Linked DNA regions of Homo sapiens: regions 2, 3 and 4 are each linked to region 1. The links are contacts of gene promoters, found by promoter capture Hi-C in blood cells and fetal thymus (Javierre and others, 2016). All regions are on one chromosome and are shown on one strand. Each heading gives the region's core, a stretch centred on a gene start or on the middle of the fragment in contact. The rest is flanking DNA. Distances are from core to core; before and after follow the strand shown.

Region 1 (2,700 bases), core at 184-2,683:
ATGGGGCTGAGGCGCTCAAGGGCCTATTGGCTGCCCAGAAGCCTTTGCAGCGCCGCCTGAATACAGCGAGGATGACCCAGGGTTCACCTTCAGCGTTGAAGGCAAGTCCTGGTATAAGGGACGCACATAGGTCCGCGCCACATCCTGACACTGTTTCCACAGGAAGTGCGGGATAGGAGGGGGGATTCATTAATCCAGGTCGGAAATACACCTTGTTCCTCGAGGATTTTGGAAGGAAATTCCACCCGCGAAGTCCCCTTTTGGAGATGCCCTTTTCCTTTCAGGTACAGCATCCTTCATTATGTACCCCCAGGGTACAATGTATCCGGGGCTCGCAACGCGTCCCTCAACCCCCAGCAGCGCGGTCACCGCGGGGTCCCCGGGCGGGCGGGGGCGGCGGTGACGCAGGAGGCGGTGGGGCCCCGGTGCGGCGGGCGCGGGGAGGGGGCTGCTGGGCGCGGGCCTATCAGGACGCGCGGTGTTTCGGGCGCGGGGAGGGCGGGGACCTCCAGGTTTCCTCGGGGCCCGGCGCAGCGCCGCCTGCCGAGTTCCGAGCGAGCGCGCGAAGCGCGCAGGGGTCTCGAGACGTTCCCGCCGGTCCCGGTTTTCCTCCGCGGCTCCCCCGCCCCTTCACGTCCGCCTCTTTCTCCAACCAGACGCGGCTCCGACGGCGCTCGGCCTCTGCTCTTCCGGCTCCCCGGCTCTGCCCGCAGCGCGCGTCGCCCGGTTGCTCTTCGCCTGGTGTCCGCGGGCCCGGCGGGGGCGCCTCACCCCGGGCGCGCGGCGGTAATGCCGCTGCCGCCCTTGCGGCCAGGCAGGCAGCTGGCGGCGGCCGGAGTCGGAGCGCGTTCGTCGCTGGCCGGGACGCCGCCCTGGCCTGTGCTCAGCTCCCGCGGCGGCCGCGGGGCGCCGGGGCCCGGCGCGGCATGAGGAGGCGGCTCGGTGCAGGCGAGCGCCCAGCTCCTCGGCCCCGAGGGCCCCCGCGGGCCCCCGCGCGTGGCGCGCGCTGGTTGCGGCCCCGGCGCCCACGCTAGCCCCGCGCAGGCAGGAGACGCCGCGGCCCGGAGTAGGAGGCGGCGCAGGGCCTGCCGAGCGGACGCGGGCGGCCCGGACCTTAAGCACGGGGCTTCGCGGCGGGACCCCGCCGGGCGCGGGCAGCGGAGCCGGGCGTGCTGCAGTTAGCTGCCCCTCTCCGCAGGGGCGCCGCGGCGCGCAGCCTGCGCCTCCTCCCACCTGCAGCCCCTCCTCCCGCCGCTGCTTGGCGGAGAAAACGCTCCTCCTCGCCCTTCCCCGGCTTTCTTCCGTCCTGCCGTCCCCGGGCCCCTAGCCCCCAGTCCCCTCTCCCCCCTCCACCTCTTGTCCCTCGGCCTCCGCGCCTCCCCTCCCCCGACTCTCTGGCCTCCCATTCATTCCGTCCGCTCCCTCCCATTTCCTCTTTTCCGCTCGGGCCCTCTCCCCAGAGCCTCCCCGCGCGGACCCCGCTGCAGTCTCGGGGTTCTCAGCACATTTATGGAAGTTTAGGGCCTGGACAGTGGCCCCGAGTCCGGCCTGAGAGCGCAGCCTGGGCTGCTGGCAGGGAAGAGGAAGATGTCTGTGCTCAGGCGGATGATGCGGGTTTCCAATCGCTCTCTCCTCGCCTTCATCTTCTTCTTCTCCCTCTCTTCGTCCTGTCTGTACTTCATCTATGTGGCCCCAGGCATCGGTAAGCACCGAGACACACCCTCGCTTCCCCTGGTCACACCACAGCCAGCGCAGGCTGTTATCCGATGTTACTTCTGGGATTTGGAAGCTGTTCAAACAGGGGCCCGCAGAAAAGCGTTTTGTTTTAAATGTTATTTCAGACGTGTCAAACTGCTTCAGGGCATGGCTTTGGTATGTGAGTTTTGTTAATGCATGCATTTTGTTAATGCATGTTTGTTAATAACGTAAAAGATTGCATTAAATAGACGTAGCAAAATTAGTGTGATGGCCCGGGATGCCCTAGTCGCTTTCTTGAGTGTTCATGACAGCTTTATCCATTTAATGTTAAGTCTTTAAGCCTAAACTGAGTGCTTAATCGTAGTTTTATTCAAACACTCTCGGGTATAATAACTGGTTGTAAAAATATGGAGGAGCCAGCAGCAGGGAATGTGATTGAGTCCAACAATGTGTGTTTTCTAGGGTCCTAGGTCGCTTTTTTAGAATGGGGTCAGTGGACCCCATTCTTTTTGTGCCATACTTGGGGAATTTTAAGGCGATGAGTTGTCTTGTAAAAACAATGCTCCATTATTTTAGTCTGCTTGGGTGTTATTTTCAAGGGTACGTTGCCTTTGCTACCTGTTAGGATGACTTCTGAGAAAATAGTGATTAAAATAACCGTTATCTAAGGGAACTTGTAGTTTAAAATGTTAACCGGTTTATCATTTTTTGGCCTTTGGTGCAAAATACACTTTTGTAAAACTGCTTGAATTAACTTCTTTATTAAATATCCGAATTCCTCGTCCCCCATTTGTTGAAAAGGAGCCAATGCGGCGTTAATTCTAGTGAATGAGAATTATGAACTTCACATGCATATTAAAATATGTCATATTTCCAAAACTTTTCTGAGTTTTTCCTGGCTATTACGTATTTAATGTTCAATTACTTAGTAACAGTGAGCATCTCCTCTCATTTCTCCTTACACACTGTGGTCGTTTGAGCCAGTGCTCTTTGTTCCGAGTT
Region 2 (2,700 bases), core at 134-2,633, 340 kb before region 1:
GGACAAGGTTTCGCCATGTTGACCAGGCTGGTTTCCAACTCCTGGGCTCAAGTGATCCGCCTGCCTCGGCCTCCCAAAGTGCTGGGATTATAGGTGTGAGCCACTGTGCCCAGCAATAAAGCTAGTTTTAAATTGTTAGTTGGCTGGGTGTGGTGGCTCATGCCTGTAATCCCAGCAGTTTGGGAGTGCTCATGCCTGTAATCCCAGCTCTTTGAGAGGCTAAGGCAGGAGGATCACTTGAGCCTAGGAATTCAAGATTGGCCTGGGCAACATAGGCAGACCCTGTCTCTATAAAAAAATAAAATTTTAGCAGGGTGTGGTGGGGCATGCCTGTTGTTCCAGCTACTCAGGAGGTTGAGGTAGGAGGATTGCTTGAGCCCAGGAATTTGAGGTTGCAGTAGGCTATGATCACATCACTGAGTAGTTTGTTCTTAGATCATATCTCTAAAAACAAACAAATAAAACTACTAGAAATAAGACAAACAATTCTTCAGGCAGAATATACCAAAAAAGCAAGATATGTTCTTGGAGAGAAAGGTTGTAAGAATGGCATGAGGCCGGGTGTGGTGGTGCACGCCTGTAATCCCAGCTACTCAGGAGGCTGAGGCAGGAGAACCTGGGAGGCAGAGGTTGCAATGAGCCAAGATCATGCCACTGCACGCCAGCCTGGGTGACACAGTGAGACTCCATCTTAAAAAAAAAAAGAAAAAAAAAAAAAAAAGAATGGCATGAAGTGTGATTTTTTTGTTAATGGAAAACGAATTGTGTCTAGTTTAGAAGTTATTTGAAGCTTGTTTCAAATTGAAAGAATAAAAAAAGATATAGATAAAACTAAATGAATATAGAAAGTTGGAAATAGAAGAAAAATCGTAAGAGGTTATAAAAGATATGTAAATCTTGTGTGGTCAAAGCTGACTGAAATTGGATGGACTTGTTTATTAGGTTTTATTTAAATTTATTATTGATATACTGATTCAAAAGTAAAATATGGTTTTCTCTTTTGAACAAGACTTTTGTGTAGTAGAGATGGGGTCTCACTATGTTGCCCAGGCTAGTCACAAACTGCTGGTCTCAAGCCATCCTCCTGCATCGGCCTTCCAAAGTCCTGGGATTACAGGCATGAGCCACTGCACCTGGCCAAGTATACTTTTGTGAGCAAAATAATTTACCTTTTTCTCTTTGGATTCACAAACTGGGTTTTGAGTATTCCTATTTCATGGCAATATAGTTACATGCATAAGTTCAGTAACAGTCTGAACAGGACATAATTGGAGACAGTGGTTATTTTAGCAAGGCTTTAACTGGAATGTCATACTTAGATACATGATCAAACTGTTTTGAGGGACTGAAATTGACATTAAAAAGCCAACAGACTTAGAAAAAGATTGGCCTGGTACCCTGTGTATATGGTTCCCTTACAAAATCCTGACCTTGCGGTATGTAAAGAATTGTCACTTTCTTGGCTGGGTGCAGTGGCTCACTCCTGTAATTCCAGCACTTTGGGAGGCCGAGGCAGGCAAATCACCTGAGCTCAGGGGTTCAAGACCAGCCTGGGCAAAATGGCGAAACCCTGCCTCTACAAAAAATACAAAAACTAGCCAGGTGTGGTGGTGCATGTCTGTAATCCCAGCTACTAGAGTGGCTGAGGCGGGACAGTCACTTGAACCTGGGAGGCAGAGGTTGCAGCGAGCTGAGATCACGCCACTGCCCTCCAGCCTAGGTGACAGAGTGAGACTCCATCTCAAAATAAACAAATAAGTGAAAAATAGCCAGGCATGGTGGCAGGCACTTATAGTCCCAGCTACGTGAGAGGCTGAGGCAGGAGGATTGCTGAGCCCAGGAGGTGGAGGCTGCAGTGAGCCATGATTGCACCACTACACTGCAGCCTGGGTGGCAGAGTGAGATCTCACCGCTAAAAATAAATAAATAAATAATAAAAATAAAGGAAATGTTTAATGTTTTAAAAATTAAGCTTTAAATGGGGGACTAAAGGAAACTGAAAATATTTCACCCCAAAATGTACTTCTTTGATATATTCCCACAGGAATAACCCTGAAAAGCTGCCTTTTGTGGAGGAGACTTGCATCTGTAGAGAAAATCTACACTGGTGAAATAAACAACCAGGCTTTCTTGGAGGCACCCCCTTATCTGTACCTAGGAAATTATTAACTGAAAGTCTGACACCTACGAAGGTCTGACAGAGCAACTTAACACAGGCTCATGCCTATTCTTTCTAGGAGCTGCTATCTATGAAGTTTCATCTGCATAACTAGACCATCTTTGCCCCAGCCCCTTCTTTCTTTCTCCCTCCCATAACCATGTTCCAAGCCCCTACTCTGCTGTAACCTCAAGATGGTATAAAAGCATCAAGCATCTGGCCCTTTCTCTCAGTTTTCATATTTTGTATGACTCCCATGCCCATATGCTCATTAATACATTTGTAAGCTTTTCCCCCCTTGTTAATCTATTAGCAGTTTGTTTCATAGACTCAAATGATCAAAACTTTAGGGGAAAAAAATCAAATTCAAATTTCCCTAAAGTGGTCACACATCTGGCTAGTGGCAGAGGTGAATTTCAAATCCAGCTCTCTGTAAGGGCCAGTTACTACTGCATCACAATACAACTTATAAAGTGCTCTTACATATTCATTCAAGGTACTGTTGTTATTATTAAACTTGTTTGACTTGAAATAGGTTTACA
Region 3 (2,709 bases), core at 150-2,649, 390 kb before region 1:
CTTTATTACGTCCCACTCCTTTTTTTGTCATTATGAATGGTGTTGCAATAAATTTTATCCTGCATATAGATTCCATTTTGGATTAGAGTGCCAGGAAATATTTCCAGATGTAGAATTACTGGGCCAAGAGGTAAGATATTACTATCAACTTGCTTTGAAATGTGTAAGTTATACCGCTATCACCAGCACAATATGCCAGTTTCACCATATCATCCTTTCATGGGGGATTATTAATTGAGAAATTTTGCTAATAGACTGAATCAAAAAATATTTATTGGAGGCTGGGCCTGGTAGCTCACGCCTGTAATCTCAGCACTTTGGGAGGCTGAGGTGGGAGGGTCACTTGAGCCCAGGAGTTTGCAGCCAGCTTAGGCAACATAGTGAGACCCTGTCTCTACAAAAAATTTTAAAAATTAGCTAGATGTGGTGGTGTGTGCCTATAGTCCCAGCTACTCAGGAGGCTGAGGTAGGAGGATCACTTGGACCTGGGAGGTCAAGGCTGCAGTGAGCCATGTCACACCACTGCACTCCAGCCTGGGTGAGAGGGTGAAACCATGTCTCTAAAAAAAAAAAAAATTATTAGAGGTTACACTATGCCAGACATTATGCTAAGAGAGAAAAATGGTACATGACTAGAGTGGTCAAGTTAATGTCTTTGATTACTGGTAATATTATGATTTTTTTCTTCTTTCAAAAATGGGGTTTTACGGCCCGGCGAGGTGGCTCACACCTGTAATCCCAGCAATTTGGGAGGCCGAGGTGGGCGGATCACTTGAGGTCAGGAGTTCGAGACCAGCCTGGCCAACAAGGTGAAACACTGCCTCTGCTAAAATACAAAAATTAGCTGAGCGTAGTGATACATGCCTGTAATCCCAGCTACTCAGGAGGCTGAGGTAGGAGAATCGCTTGAACCCGGGAGGCAGAGGTTGCATTGAGCTGAGATCACACCACTGCACTCTAGCCTGGGCAACAGAGCAAGACTCCGTCTTAAGTGTTGGGATTACATGTCTCAAAAAAAAAAAAAAAAAAAAAAATGGGGAGAGGGGTTGCTATGTCGCCCAGGCTGGAATGCAGTGGCTATTCACAGGCACTATCATAGTGCACTATAGCCTCAAATTCCTGAACTCCTGGGCCAAGCAATCCTTCTACTTCATGCTGGATGTTTTATATGTGTGTTATCATCACACACTGATGATGTATATGTGTATATATCATCAGTAGGTCTCATGATAGATTAGACAGCTGAAATATTTACTAAGTACTTGACATGTGCCATTGTTTTAGATTTTGGAGAATTTAGTGGTGAATACTTGCAATCCAAAATTTATATTCTAGAGAGAGGAAATAACCAATAAAAATGAAAATAAATGTATAAGATAACTTCTCATTCTAGTACAGTTATGGAGACATTACAGTAAAACAATAGACAGATTTGGTGGAGGAGTGACTTTGGCTGGAATTACAAGGTAATTCCTTTATGAGAAGATGACATTTGAGCTGACAGTTGAATGATTTAGAAGGCAGTCATGTCAAACTCCCAGCGAAGAGCTTTTCAAACAGAAGGAATAGAAAGTGCCAAGATGCAGGACCCACTGTAAGTTTGGTGTGTTTAATAAACCTAACAGTGTGGCCGAAGTATAAGGATCAAGGGAGAGAGTGGAGTGAGATGAAGTTGGAGAGTGGGCAGGGACCAGGTTGTGAAGGGCTTTCATTGAAGGGCATGGAAAGGCCTTTAGAATTTATTCTCATAATAATGGAGGCCGGGCGTGTTGGCTCACACCTGTAATCTCAACACTTTGAGAAGCCAAAGCAAGAGAATGGCTGGAGTCCAAGAGACCAACCTGGGCAACATAGTGAGACCTCCATTTCTACAAAAATTTTACAAATTAGCCCAGCATGGTAGTGCATGTCTATGATCCCAGCTACTAGGGAGGGTGAGGTGGGAGGATGGCTCAAGCCCAAAAGGTCGAGGTTGCAGTGAGCTGTAATCATACCACTGCACTCAGCCTGGAAGACAGAGTGAGACCCTGTTTCAAAAAAAAAACAAAAAAACAACCAAAAAAAACCTCTTTCCACAATCTTTCCATGTCACCACAATGGTGCGCATAAATGTCCTGGCTGATGCTCTCAAGAGCATCAACAATGCCAAAAAGAGAGGCAAACACCAGGTTCTTATTGGGCCATGCTCCAAAGTCATCATCCGGTTTCTAACTGTGATAATGAAGCATGGTTACATTGGCGAGTCTGAAATCATTGATGATCAGAGCTGGGAAGATTGTGAACCTCACAGGCAGGCTAAACAAGTGTAGAGTGATTAGCCCCAGATTTGACGTGCAACTCAAAGATCTAGAAAAATGGCAGAATAATCTGCTCCCATCCTGCCAGTTTGGTTTCATTGTACTGACAACCTCAGCTGGCATCATGGACCATGAAGAAGCAAAGACGAAAACACACAGGAGGGAAAATCCTAGGATTCTTTTCTAGAGATGTAATATATATTTACAAATAAAATGACTCGTGGACATACACACACAAACAACAACAACAAAGAAAACAATGGAGGCCCTGGGAGCATTTTAAGCAGTGAAAAGGTGGCATGGCACAATCAGATTGATGCTTTTAAAGATCTCTCCAACTGCTGTATGAGGAATGGACCTTTTTTTTTTTTTTTTTTTGAGATGGAGTTTAGCTCTTGTTGCCCAGGCTAGA
Region 4 (2,700 bases), core at 42-2,541, 430 kb before region 1:
TCATTAAAAGCGTGATTACAATCATGTATACTAAGAACTTTACTAAAAGCTGGAGATATGCTCAACAAGACAAACACCATCCCCTCACTTAAGAACAATCTATTGGGTAAAAAAGCAGATAGGAAATTACAATAAAGTAGAAGTACAACAATAAGAAAAACATAGAAATGAAGAAACCCAGAAGGACTAAAAAAAAACTATAAGAGCAACAACTTTCAAACAAATTTCCTTGACACTAACAAGTCAAGTAAAATGAGAACCTGAAGTTTTTTCAGACTAGGCAATCAGAAAATTACTGCAGATCTTTACCAGACAATCACTAAAGGTTTTTACCAGAAATTTCAACTGAGTAGGGAAGACGCCTAATGTAGTATGATCAACATGAAGTGCTTAAGGGCGGTTAAGTTACTAAAAATTAGCAATATGTAAAATGAAAGGCTACTAAAATAAAATATTAGAGACTGCTTAACATACTGTCTCCTGGGAACCTTTCTATAATAGTGGCAATATTGTCTTTCCTTACAGTTACGTATGTGCTTACTACTGAAGTTTTCAAAATTAACAATGCATTGTTTAGGGATACATGCATGGGTGATGATACATAAAGAAAATCAAAGGAATGAATAATCCAAATAAGAGAATAGTGGTTGCATCTAGGAGTGTACGGTTCAAATGGGCAGGAGCTCACATAGAGATCCTGAAGTTTTGAAAAATGTTCTTTCTTGACCTGGGTTAATAGGTAACTGGATGTTAATCATTATTTTTTTAAACCACAAGTGCATTTTGGCCATTTTTCTGTGTAAAATACATTTCATAAAAATGTTTAATGTACATGAATCTGAGATAAGATACAAATCAATCCAAATCTAGTTGTTTAAAAGAAATGAGACTCAAACAGAACTGCACTGCACCTGGTTTCATTTTTACATGACATTTTAGAATAAAAATTTCAAACTCTAAGTCTATCCCTTAGATAGCAAAGAAAAAACAGGTTGTAGTTTGCAAATACATTACTGAAAAGGATTTTCTATAGTTTTTCAAATCATTTCAGTTGCAAAATCAGTAAGAGAAAAATCTCCAACTTATTTTTTACTCAAAAAAATGAAAATTCTTAGAATGATTTTAAATAACATAAGCTGAAGTTCATGAAGTCATCTCCCAGATGAGAGCTTACGTGTGCCAAACAGATTTTAAGGCAAATGCTGTAGTTCTGATACTTGGCAATTCACTTTAAAAACACATGTGCACATACACACACACACATCCCCCCAAATACCTTATCATATAGTTCCCAAAACAATTTCCATTTCAATTATGAAAATTCTGTATTTAGGAATAAGTATTGCTTACCTGTTCCCTACTGAATCTTGAGAGATCTGAAAGTTTGGAATGATAGAAGAAACACCATATTCATCCTGATACTTCTTACAAGATTTGTAATGATGTCTCATGCGATAGAATTTAATCTGTAAATTATTAAAATGTGACTTTTAATTTAAAATAGAACTCGTAAGATTTGAAATAGTGTAAAGAGAGGAAAAAATAAAAGTAACTAAATACTCCATTTAAACAGGAGTTGTATTTTTTTAAAGTAAATGATTTCATCCTTAAGTAGGAGTTAAGAATAGATAATACATTTCTGTTCATTAAATGTAGAGATGGAGAAGAGTCCATCTGTCTATAAATTCACTGCAAAAAACAGCAAATAACTTCACACTTGAAAAGACACTACCAGCAGTAGACAAAAAAATTAAAAGCACTAAGAGGATGCCAGATGCTATTGGGCATGTCTTATTATTTAACTTCTGCAGCCTGGCAGAGTTAGAAAGCACTTAAAAAAAAATTAAGTTCCTGGCTGGGTGCAGTGGCTCGCGCTTGTAATCCCAGCCTTTTGGGAGGCTGGGATGGGTGGACTGCTTGAGTTCAGGGGTTCAAGACCAGCCTGAGCAATATGGCAAAATCCTGTTTATACAAAAAATACAAAAATTAGCCAGGTGTAATCTCAGCTACCTGTGGGGCTGAGGCAGGAGGATTGCTTAGAGCCTGGGAAGTCAAAGCTGCAGTGAGCCGAGATTGTGCCACTGTACTCCAGCCTGGGTGACAAAGTGAGACCCTGTCTCAAAAAAAATTAAGTTGCCAGGAATACTTGGAACATTTTTCAGTTTCTCACTGAGAGGAATAGCCAGAATCTCTCGAGTGTGTTTTCCAGCTTCACGTCATTGCCCTGTCAGTTAAACACTTCCTTCAAAAAGATGTAAAAGCAGATCTGACTTGTGTGAATGCATGAAATAGCAACCAGCTTTGCTCACTGAATTCATTAGCTATTAGAAAAAATGTCGGTGATAAATCTATAGACACATGGATATACTCAAAGCCTAACCACCCCTCTCTATTTTATTCCTTCTCCAAATGATAGAATAAAATCCAGATTAGAGAATTAATGCTGGTTATTTGTTAACACCTGATTTTCCTACATGTTCCTTAAAATTAACCAAATATTTTGTGATTTCTTTCTTCTTCTTTTTTTTTAGACAGCGTTTCGCTCTTGTTGCCCAGTTTGGAGTGCAATGGCGCAATCTCAGCTCACCGCAACCTCTGCCGCCCAGGTTCAAACAATTCTGCCTCAGCCTCCCAAGTAGCTGGGATTATAGGCATGCGCCACCACACCTGGCTGATTTTTTATTTTTAGTAGAGACGGGG

Evidence for each region. Contacts are between HindIII fragments. The CHiCAGO score rates a contact against its expected background, and 5 or more counts as called.
Region 2: a fragment that was not itself captured here is called in contact with the fragment with the promoter of B4GALT6 in region 1 in 2 of 17 cell types (erythroblasts and fetal thymus); the score reaches 6.7 in erythroblasts.
Region 3: a contact is called between a fragment that was not itself captured here and the fragment with the promoter of B4GALT6 in region 1, in 1 of 17 cell types (fetal thymus). The highest score is 6.9, in fetal thymus.
Region 4: a contact is called between a fragment that was not itself captured here and the fragment with the promoter of B4GALT6 in region 1, in 1 of 17 cell types (erythroblasts). The highest score is 5.1, in erythroblasts.

Annotation. Positions count from the first base shown.
Region 1 is chr18:31,683,314-31,686,013 of GRCh38, reverse strand. It overlaps B4GALT6 (beta-1,4-galactosyltransferase 6), which reads left to right and starts at 1,433. Exons shown (of 9, transcript NM_004775.5): 1 at 1,433-1,702. The coding sequence starts at 1,588. RefSeq lists a silencer at 297-1,336. The HindIII fragment of the contact is 10,803 bases long and covers 1-2,700 here.
Region 2 is chr18:32,022,214-32,024,913 of GRCh38, reverse strand. All of the region lies in intron 1 of RNF125 (ring finger protein 125), which reads right to left. Among named protein-coding and RNA genes, the nearest start is that of RNF125, 4.7 kb to the right of the region's middle. The HindIII fragment of the contact is 1,182 bases long and covers 793-1,974 here.
Region 3 is chr18:32,075,660-32,078,368 of GRCh38, reverse strand. It overlaps a transcript of RNF125 not described here and the pseudogene RPS15AP35. Among named protein-coding and RNA genes, the nearest start is that of RNF138, 15 kb to the left of the region's middle. The HindIII fragment of the contact is 9,029 bases long and covers 1-2,709 here.
Region 4 is chr18:32,112,511-32,115,210 of GRCh38, reverse strand. RNF138 (ring finger protein 138) reads right to left here. Exons shown (of 8, transcript NM_016271.5): 4 at 1,351-1,466. Among named protein-coding and RNA genes, the nearest start is that of RNF138, 22 kb to the right of the region's middle. The HindIII fragment of the contact is 5,185 bases long and covers 1-2,700 here.